Linked DNA regions of Homo sapiens: regions 2, 3 and 4 are each linked to region 1. The links are contacts of gene promoters, found by promoter capture Hi-C in blood cells and fetal thymus (Javierre and others, 2016). All regions are on one chromosome and are shown on one strand. Each heading gives the region's core, a stretch centred on a gene start or on the middle of the fragment in contact. The rest is flanking DNA. Distances are from core to core; before and after follow the strand shown.

Region 1 (2,598 bases), core at 43-2,542:
TGTACAGATGCCAAAACTAAAGCAAAACAAAATATCCTGTTCGAGATGTGAGAATTCTTTCAAATAAAAACAGAACAAATATGGCATGATTATCTGTTCTGGATTTCTGATCTCTGATGCTAACACGATGCGTGAGTAGCTCAAGTCCTAACTGTAAAGTCAACACGGTCACCAAATAATCAGCGGTCACAGCACTTCCATTTCTAATCGCTTAGAGGAGGAAGCTATCCGCCGGCTCACTTTCCGGTTTGTAGCTTACAACGGTCGCGGGACCCACAGGGACGCGGCCCGAGTGGCTCTGCTCCGGCGTCCCGTCCGCACGGATCTCCCCCGGGACGCGGGCGGACCAGGGAGCACTCACCGGCAGTCCTTGAGCCATATCGCGATCTTCTCGTTGGGCACGTTTCCTGGGGGTAGAGAGAGGGGACAGCACGTTACCACCCAGGAGCACTACGACGGCGGAGTCACCCTGGACCCTCCCAAGTAGGAAAATCTACCACGGCAAATGCAGCCTAAGCGACACGTCTCAGTGTCCCTTGGCAGGGAAATCGGATGGCACCCAGTTGTCTGTGTTGACGCTGGGGGCGCCTCGTTCAGCGCGCGCGTTTGAAGGTCGGAAGTGTCCCCTCTCCCCTCGGCCTACCGTGCCCGAGGCTCTCCCAGAACTCGTGGCAGGCGCCCAGGGCGCACGAGACTCTCCCCAGCCCACCAGCCTCCCCCCGGAGCCCGGCCGGGAGCACCGACCTCTTCCCCCCGCTGCCGGCAGCTGCGCGCCGGGGAGGTCCTCCTCCTCGTCCTCCTCCTCGTCCTGCGTCGTCGCTTCTGTGGACAGATCCTCCGTCTCCGACGCTTGCCAGGAGCTGCGGCACTTGGCCCAGGCCTTCCTCCTGCGACTCGCCACTTGCCACTCCAGTTCCTCCTCCGCCTCCGCCGACGACGACAGGGGCCGGTCCATGGCCGCACTGGGGGCTCCGCTACCCCAGCCGGACCCTGCGCGAGACAAGGCGGCGGCAGGGACCCCCGCCCTTGCTGTCAGCGCCCGGCCGGGCAGGGGGCCCCGGGGAGCTGAAGCGGGCGCCGGAGGAGGAGGAGGAGGAGGAGGGGACAGGGAGGGAGGGAGGGAAGGAAGGGGAGGGAAGGGGCGGAGGGCCGGCGCTTCACATGAAGGCGGCCGGGCGCGCGCGGGAGCGCTAGTGGCCCGAGGGAGCGCGGCTGGGAGCCGAGCGCCCGCCCGGCCCCTGCTCCCCACCCCCTGCCTGACGCGCCCGGAGCAGGCCGGCCGCTGCGCGTCTGCGCGCCTTCCCTCGGCGGCGGCCCACGCCCCCTTCCGGCCGGGGCCGCGCGGGGCGCGGTAGGGCGGGGCGCGCCCGGCGCGACGCGGAGCAGGCCAGCCCCCGACTACTGCCCGCGGAATGGGCAAGATTAGTTTGTTAATAATCTTTCCTCCTCTCCTCCTCCTCCTCCCTCACCTAAAAATAGAACGTAAGTGGGGAGGCCAAGTCTCACAAAACATCCCCCGCGAGAAAACAAGTGTCTGCTTGGGCACCCTGAAACATACACTTGAAAGAGTCGCCTGAATATAGACTCTTTAGTGTCCAAGGAATTGGGGTAAGGACGGAAAGAGGTGCTTGATTGGTGTTGCCAAAATGTAAAAACTGCAAAAGACTAAGCTTCCTGGAGTGCTACTTTCATACTTAAAGTTATTTATCGTGTTTATGTTATGAATGAAAATGAATTGTGAAAGGATATTTAATCTGGAAATTTCACATTGAAGTTGGACTTTGGTGAGGGAGAATAGAGGAAACAATTGGGACAATGTGGAGATAGTTGCTTGGATTTTGGTGAGACAGCATGATACAAGAAACAAATGATGTCAGGGTTCAAAACTTTTTAAAGCCAGCTTTGGCATTCCGTTTTGTTATGTTTAAATTCTCATTAGCAAAAATACTCAAATTCTATCCAAAACCAGACACAATGTGACAGACCTATCAAGCAGCATTGTTCCCCTAAATGTTACATCTGAACTATACATATAAGTAAGGCTTCCAATATTTTATTGTACTTGGCTATGCTCTGAAGAACAAGTTAGAACACTTTTTAAAATCTTAACGTGATTGAAAAGAATATTTTGCGTAGACAAAATATTTTAAGGAAGGAATTATTTTTCATTTGAAATTAAAATCCAGAGCATAGTAAAATTCCTAATGGAAGCATTCGAATTACAAGGTAATTAAGTGCATTGTCATTGATAGCTACAGGAAACCATAACTTTTGGAGAATTTGGAATGAAGAATGCTCTGGAGATGAAATAGTGCCTAGTTTTTGTCCAGGCATTTACACATAAGTCATAGACTACTAAAATAGCACACTGATTTTCCTGCCTTCATTCTTTCCTATCTCCTTTCTAGCGCATTGCTCTAGATTTACAATTCCAAGACATCTTCTAATGGTTTACTAATATCCCCAAGATCAAATCCAAAATCCAGACTAGCTTTCCAGAACCATCATAATATTCTCCTGAGTCTCATCTATGTACTGCCAAATGTCAGGGGAGTTAGAACAGTGATATTAATATCTCTATGGCTTGAAATTTCACTA
Region 2 (2,598 bases), core at 29-2,528, 1.8 Mb after region 1:
ATTTAAGAAAAATAAAATTATAGTCCTTATAAAGAGATAAAACACAGCTAACAGAAACATAAAAACAGAGGATCAAGTGTATCACTTATTTCAGAAAGTAATAAATAGGCTAAATCCTGTTCCTCAGGTAAAAGGAAAATACTGTCATTCAGTTCAAAATAAATTTCAGCTATATGTGGTTAACAACATTTCTAAAATGATATGATAGAGAAATGTCAATAAAAGTGTGGGCAGATAAGTATTAGCAAATAGAAGCAAAAAAAAAGAAAGGCAGTGATTACATTATTATAAAATTAAAGACTCAAAAGCTTCAAAGGTATTAATGGTCTATTTATTTTTAAATAGATAAGGGGTTAAGTCAATAATACATAACAATTATAAATCATTACTTAGTATCATAAAAATATGTAAACATTATGAGTTCAAGAGAAAAATGACAAATATTTACAAATTAAATTTGAATTAAGATTGATTTATTTAGATTCAATATTCTATAAAGAGTGAATACGCATTATTCTCAAGCATCCCTAGAATGTCTAAAAATCTATCACATAGTAGATAATAAAGAAAACTTCAAGAAAATCTCAGAAATCAAAAATTTCAAGGGTTCATTTTCTGATAGACCAAGGGCCCTTATCCATGTATGGGCTTCAGAAAATCCATAGGCTTCCTGACACAGTATTTTGTGTTTATGATCATTTTCTCTGTGTTGCATGTACAGTTTTTCATCAATATTCCAACTAATCCCAATCCTTCATAAATATGAGATTAGGAGCTAATAAAGACAATTATAATGAAAAGTTAAAACTCCAGACACACAAAATTTCTAAAGAAAAAATATTTTAAATGTTAGTATTTAATATGATACAAACATGGTATAAACTACTGTCTGCATTTAATGAACAGATGTGTGTAATTGGAATTGCTCTAGGTTTACAGTGGACATAATTGTCATGTTTATTAATCAATGATCCATAAATAAGAGTGCTTGTTAGTGAGTCCTGCATGCATACTGCAATAAATATATGGCTTATTGTTTTATGTGTATGATTTTTATCAATTAGAAATTTTTTCTTGCAAGTGAAAGAAAATCTATTGCCTGTTCTATTTACAGACAGGCTCCTTCCTTAGAGAACTTGAGCAACTCCAGAAATACATAATCTCAGCTTCCCAAAATTTCCCTCTAGAACCTCCCTCTATCTCGGAAGTCTCCAAAAAGTCTCATGATATTTCTTTGGCTCTGATGGCATCACCTGAGTGTCCATGAACTAATCATTGACAACAGGGAAAAGTGGGGATCTGATTGGCTATGCCTAATTCACATATCCCAATAGACCTCCACCCAATCACATTTGCTGAGAGCAATTGATGAGTAGATTCCAAGTTCAAAATGGGAATAACTATCTAAACTAGCTGAATAAATAATGTTACTAGTAACATGATACATACAGTCTATTGAATATAAGAATTTGCTATTTGCATGTTTACTGTTCATTCTTGCCATTCTGCAGTTTAAGGAAATGGGGCTATTAAAATTTGCAAGCTGGCTATAATAATTAAATACTGTTTACATGTCCTTTTTCTCACACCTGTTTTCAAAATTAGTAGAAATGCCAAACTTCCTAGAATCTGGTAGTTTTAGGTGATTAAGATTCATGGAATAAAGCTACCCTATATCTGCATTATCTCATAGTTCATATATTAAAACTAAATTAAAATAACTCCCAAAATTTAGCTATTTAATTAAATCTTGAACTCTTTTGTTGTTTATCATTAATGATTCACACATTTCAGCAAAATCAAATGAGAGTAATTCATTGTTCATGCTCCTGCAAGATATTGAGACCTAAAAACAACTGAATTCTTTACTTGCAAAGATATTCTTTCATTTATAACTGAAGTTACAATGTATGGAAATTCAGTAAAGATAACTGATGGGAGATAAAGGGTCTTGAAAAAAAAGTTCAACAAAGTGAAAATTTCATATGAAAGAAAAGGCATAATATGAAAGTAAAAAAAGAAACCTAGCACACAGAGAGAAGACAGAGACCAAGAATTGTTCTAAGAATGTCTAAGGGCTTAACCTCCCCTACCTCAGCATAGCAGAGAAGAAAATGAAATGTATTTAATATTTCTTGGGCCTCAGAATATACGGTACATTGAAGCAATACAAGATAAATAATTTAGGCTGTTTCAACTGAGATTGGCAAAATCCCAACTTGTCATAAACAGGGTTTTAAAAGCTTGATACTGCATAAATAATTTATAGTTTCTGAAGAGAAGTTCTAAATTTGAAACCACGCATTAAATAGAAGTCTCTGTATCAACCACAGGGCCCTCATCTCCTTCAGGAGCTGACTGAGATACTTTACAAAAAGGTCATCATCATAAATAAAAGCAAAATATCACGGCTTATTTCCTATTTTTGCAAATATAAACCAAACCCAGGATGTTTAAGAGATATGTCATAGCATTTTTAAGCAAACAAGAACAAAAATGTTACTTATATGCTCTTATATTTATTAAGTAAATTGCAAGCTAAATTACCCTGCCTTTCTTTTTTATGGGAGAATAGGATTCATTCCATATTTACCGAAG
Region 3 (2,598 bases), core at 38-2,537, 1.2 Mb before region 1:
TGAGAATTTCCGAGGAAAGGGTTTTTGCACCGGGAAGGTGGCGAACCAGCGTATGGTTCTGTGAATGCTTTTCATCCGGGAATGCTTCCTGATTTGTGGGTACTTAAGTTACATAGAAGCACAGATTATTTTACTCACGGTTTCATAATTAGCGTGAGTTGACCCAGTGCTCTATCATCGGTCAGCTTTTCTGAGTAGCACCTGGAAAAGTCAGCTTGATGAAAACAGTTGGTGCCTCTTTGCAATGTCGATTTCTGGACTTAGTACATGACGCTTTTTCCTCAAAGCATGTTTTCTACTATCCGTATGCCATTTCTTTTAAATTTTGTGTTATGTAGACAATTTTACATTAAAGCGTAACTCATACGCCGTTTTGTTGCATATTAAAACATACAAAAATATAGCTAACGAACGCATAAAGTACACATGTAAATAATGGAAGATAATTATACGCACCCACGAACCCTCCACACCGCGGAATCTTGCGTGCTTCTGCATGTGCCATCCCTGCCGTCCACGTCCCCTCACTTTGCTGCTTTTCTTTAGGGCATAGTCATACGTAAATCACATACACATATTCTGCATATGTGTGTGTAAAAATATATTGTTTAGTTTTGCTCAAATACTAACTTTATAAAATAATGTGCTACATATGTATAACTGGGGACGTTCTCTGCTCCATACCATGAGGATTATTTCCAAAATATCCACCCATGCTCAGCTATTTCTTCTAGGACTTCCTAAAATCTCAAATGGAGGAAGAATTTTGTCTTTGGAATGAGGCAGTAACAATTCCAGAATTAAATGGTAGGTTCACAGAAATCAAATTTTAAAACCACTCACAGATCGAATTGACTTTTTGAAAATGGGTGTGTGAATTGAATTGTGTCCCTCAAAAATTTATGTTCAAGTCCTAACCCTCATACTTATGAATATGACCTTATTTGGAAATCGGGTCTTTGCAGATGTAATAAAGTTCAGATAAAGTCACATTGGAGTACCACAAGCTCGGTTAACTAAACCAGCACAAATGTATCTCTTACAGTTCTGGAGGCCAAAAATCCAAAATGAGTATTGTAGGGCTAAAATCAAAGTACCAGAAGGACTATTTTCTTCTGGAGGCTCCAGGGGAGAATCTATTACCTTGCTTTTTCAAGCTTCTAGAAGCCACTTATATTTCTTAGCTTGTGCCACCTTCCTGCTTTTTCAAAGCCAACGATGTAGCATCTTTGGTCTGTCTGACACTGCTTTGTTCAGCTTCTGCCATCACATAGCCTTGTGATGACATTTAGGACCCACCCAGGTAATCCAGGATAATCTTACTATTTCAATATTCAGTAGAGGTGATTAAGTTAATAATCACATCTTCAAAATACCTTTTGCCATATAAGGTAACATTCACAGATTCTAAAGCTTAGTGTATGGATATCTTTGGGGAGTAGTCAGCCCACAACACAGGGCAATCCACTTTTTAGAATTAAGCTACCAAGAAAGGTATATCAATGTATAAATTTCTACACACATTGAGGCTAGATGTGGTGGCTCACACCTGCAATCCCAGCACCTTGGGAGGCTGAGGGGTTGATCACTTGAGTCCAGGAGTTTGAGATAGTGAGACCCCACTTCTCTACAAAATAAAAAAGAAATTTCTATACAAATTATGATCTAGCCAAACAAAAGAACACTATACAACAACTAAAATGAATTAGATGGATTTGATATGAGTGTAAATATTAACCTAGAAAGACCTCTGTGATAGATATAATGAAAAAAAGTAATTTGAAAACATGCATGCATATACGGCACCATTTTTATTTAATAACGGGTTTATTTAGGAACAGATGCAGAGAAAGAGAAAAGAGTGATACTTCTTTAAATAAAAGAAGATGTTGAAAAAGATTTGCACCAGCCGGGCATGGTGGCTCATGCCTGTAATCCCAGCACTTTGGGAGGCCAAGGCGGGCGGATCACGAGGTCAGGAGTTCCAGACCAGCCTGGCCAACATGGTGAAACCCCATCTCTACTAAAAAATACAAAAATTATCCGGGCATGGTGGCACATGCCTGTAATCCCAGCTACTTGGGAGGCTGAGGCAGGAGAATCGCTTGAACCCAGGAGGTGGAGGTTGCAGTGAGCCAAGACCATGCCACTGCACTCCAGCCTGGCGACAGAGCGAGACTCTGTGTCCAAAAAAAAAAAAGAAAAGAAAAAGAAAAAGATTTGCACCAAACTATTAACAGTAAAGTAGAAAAGGGTTTGTAAATTGGAGGATTTAAGAATGGCCTTTACACATGTATACATATGTAACAAACCTGCACGTTGTGCACATGTACCCTAGAACTTAAAGTATAATAATAATAATAATAAAAAGAATGGCCTTTAACTTATTTTATACAATTTTGTGGTTGATGACAGGTGTTATTGCTATTTTATTTATTTATTTATTTATTTTGAGATGTAGTCTCGCTCTGTCACCAGGCTGGAGTGCAGTGACACGATCTCAGCTCTGGCACTCCACTGCAACCTCCACTGATTCCCCTGCCTCAGTCTCCCGAGTAGCTGGGAGTACAGGCGCATGCCACCACACCCAACTCATTT
Region 4 (2,598 bases), core at 70-2,569, 1.1 Mb before region 1:
AAATTCCTTGACCAGTTAATGACTAGTAATAGCTCGACAGATGATCTCTCTGAAGTGTTTGTATTCTTAAGACTCTCTAGGTACAAAGCATTCATTCAAGGTACTGCAGCTTTGTATATAGAATTTCAGGCACACTGGCAGGTATGATTATGACTTCTTTTGGTGGGAACAGGACTCTTTTAAATGCCCCTTAGATTAAATCCATTCAGTCCACTCCTTCTTTCTTGTTGGAATATTAAAATGAAGATTTCTTTACGAATAGTAGATATAGTAGCTTTAAAAAATATTTTAAAGCTATTCATTACAATTTCCTTTTCTTAAAGAGTTTTGATAAATCCAGTGATGGCTTATTACTCTTAGAATGTCTTATTGAATGTGGCGGGACATTTTGTTACTGACTTAAAATTAATGAATATAATATAAAAAATTAACATATCGAGAAAAGGCAAAGCCAAAAATATTAGAGGCCTGAGTCCTCTTGGCTGAAGTTTCTCACCTCAATTACGTAAGTCCTCAGTTAGTTCACTTTTGGAATCATGTCTAATACATTTGACAAGGGAGTAGCCTTGGAGTGTCGCTAAGAAGAAATTGATCAGGAAAAATGAGATGGCAAAGAAGAATGTTTCCAAGAAGAAGTGGGATTTAGGGTGGAGGCTGTAAAAAAATGGGAGCGGTTCCTTTAGGCATTGAACAAACATTTATTTTTTGCCTTCCACATGCCAGGACCTACTGCGTCTCCTCCGGATGGGTGCTCCTCGCCGACAAAGTCTAGATTGTGATTATCTCAAGGACTTGAGTTACCCTCACTTCCGACCTCCTCTCTCACAAACTGGTTCCAGGCGGGGAGACTGAGGATGGGCTGGGGAGGCTGGCAGAGGCGATCCCCACCTCGCGGAGCACAACATCTGCTGTGTTCTGCGGCGAGCGCCTGTCAAGCAGTGGGAGGAAAAAGCGCTTGGAGCCACCAGCCCACTCTTAAGCGAAACTCGCCTGGAAAACACCCCGCCTCCCAGCAGAGTTTCTGCCGGTTTCTTTAGAAGGGTGGTGCGGAAAAGCAACTTTTGGGAACTTGAAGGAGTGGGGTGTGGGGCGAAGTGGAAAGAGCACACAACGCGACCCCACTCAGTCCCCGCTTGGGACTCCCATCCCGGCATCAGGCGTAGTGGGCGGTCCGGGCCAGGGCCAGGGCCAGAGCGGCGGCGGCGAGGCCATGCCGAGGGCCCGTCGGCCGCAGTTCCCCGTCCGGCCTCGCGGGGGCGCCGGCGCTGCCGATCAGGTGACCGAGGGCCCGTCCGGGGCTGCGGGAAGCGGCCTCGTTCTCAGCCGCCGGAGACGCCGCCGCCGCCGCCGCCGCCGCCACACCTAGTGGAGCAGCCGGGGAAGGCGGCTCGTTGGGGGCTGGGGCGGAGAGCGCCGGGGGTGGGGGCGGAAGGGCGGCGGGCGGAAGGCAGGAGGCTGCCGGGGCGCGGGCTGCTGCGGGAGAAGGGGCTCCGAGGAGTCCGCCGCGGCTCGCTCTGTCGCCGGCGCGGGATTGGGGCGCGAGGGCCATGGGCGCGCTCTCCTAAGGCGGAGGTCGCGGGCGGGAGGGGAGGAGGCCCGAGAGAGGCTGCTGCGAAGGCCGCGGGCCCGTGACTGGGCGCGAGGCGGCCGGCGGCGGCGGCGGCACCAGCACCACCATGTCGCGCTCAGTGCTGCAGCCCAGTCAGCAGAAGCTGGCGGAGAAGCTCACCATCCTCAACGACCGGGGCGTCGGCATGCTCACCCGCCTCTACAACATCAAGAAGGTGCGCACGGGCCGGGGAGGCCGCGGCGGAGGCGGGCGGGCCCGGGAGGGATGAAGGGCAAGGGAGGCCGTGGGGTGGGGGCGGCAGGAGGCGCCGGGTGTAGAAATCTCGGCGTCGCCGCCCGAGGCCCGGCCCGGGGTCGCCTGGATGCGCCGCGGCCTAATGCGGAGTCCCGGGCGCCTCTCCCTGTGGTTCGCCGGCCGGCCGAAGGCAGAGAAGCCATTTCCCGGCTCCCGGCGGCGGGATCGGGCGCTGGGCCTCGCACGGGGTGGGGGCGCCGCTGGGAGCCGGGAGCTGTCCCCTCCTCGGCGCCCCCGCCCCCATGATGGGGCCCATAGGAAAGGGAGGGTGGTGGGTGGGCGAAATTCTAGGTGGGTAGGAAAACTTGAGTGTTCCATATTCTTACGGAGATGGCAGCAGTGAACAGGGATTACACCCCACATCCCCATTTTTTGGTGTGGGAATGTGGGTAGAGAAGGGCTGATTGGATGAATCCCGTATCCCCTCCACTTTGCCACTTTATTTTAGATTGCTAAATAAAAAGCCATTGAGAGTGTGTTGACGATTTGGGATTATTTCATTTTGAAGGTGGAGAGGAGGGGGAAGTGAGGGTGGAACCAATTTTCTGAAATACTTCTAGGCTGTGAGTCACTAGAACTGGAATAACAACCTTCTACTCTTTCCCCTGTACTCCTCCTCATGTTAGATTTTCCAATACCATTTCTTAAAGTTCGGTGTCTGTACAAAATAAAAACCGTAAAAATGTTGCAATTGCTGCTGATTTATAGCATAGTCTGATAATTTGAGCAACTAT

What was found. The method cuts DNA at HindIII sites, captures the fragments that hold promoters and counts their contacts. A CHiCAGO score of 5 or more calls a contact.
Region 2: a contact is called between a fragment that was not itself captured here and the fragment with the promoter of ITPRID2 in region 1, in 2 of 17 cell types (total B cells and naive CD4 T cells). The highest score is 6.2, in total B cells.
Region 3: a fragment that was not itself captured here is called in contact with the fragment with the promoter of ITPRID2 in region 1 in 1 of 17 cell types (total CD8 T cells); the score reaches 5.3 in total CD8 T cells.
Region 4: the fragment with the promoter of NCKAP1 here is called in contact with the fragment with the promoter of ITPRID2 in region 1 in 7 of 17 cell types (non-activated CD4 T cells, activated CD4 T cells, naive CD8 T cells and 4 more); the score reaches 15.5 in non-activated CD4 T cells.

What each region holds. Positions count from the first base shown.
Region 1 is chr2:181,890,424-181,893,021 of GRCh38, reverse strand. ITPRID2 (ITPR interacting domain containing 2) reads right to left here and starts at 1,292. Exons shown (of 18, transcript NM_001130445.3): 1 at 745-1,292; 2 at 362-407. The coding sequence starts at 955. RefSeq lists silencers at 656-795, 1,086-1,415. The HindIII fragment of the contact is 2,528 bases long and covers 1-1,672 here.
Region 2 is chr2:180,112,136-180,114,733 of GRCh38, reverse strand. No RefSeq gene overlaps it. Among named protein-coding and RNA genes, the nearest start is that of EPCART, 12 kb to the left of the region's middle. The HindIII fragment of the contact is 1,935 bases long and covers 311-2,245 here.
Region 3 is chr2:183,121,685-183,124,282 of GRCh38, reverse strand. LOC124907917 (a long non-coding RNA gene) reads left to right here. Exons shown (of 2, transcript XR_007087331.1): 2 at 1-366. It also overlaps a transcript of NUP35 not described here. Among named protein-coding and RNA genes, the nearest start is that of NUP35, 1.5 kb to the left of the region's middle. The HindIII fragment of the contact is 256 bases long and covers 1,160-1,415 here.
Region 4 is chr2:183,037,178-183,039,775 of GRCh38, reverse strand. NCKAP1 (NCK associated protein 1) reads left to right here and starts at 1,319. Exons shown (of 31, transcript NM_013436.5): 1 at 1,319-1,784. The coding sequence starts at 1,677. RefSeq lists silencers at 746-1,397, 1,130-1,719, 1,780-1,899. The HindIII fragment of the contact is 8,317 bases long and covers 1-2,598 here.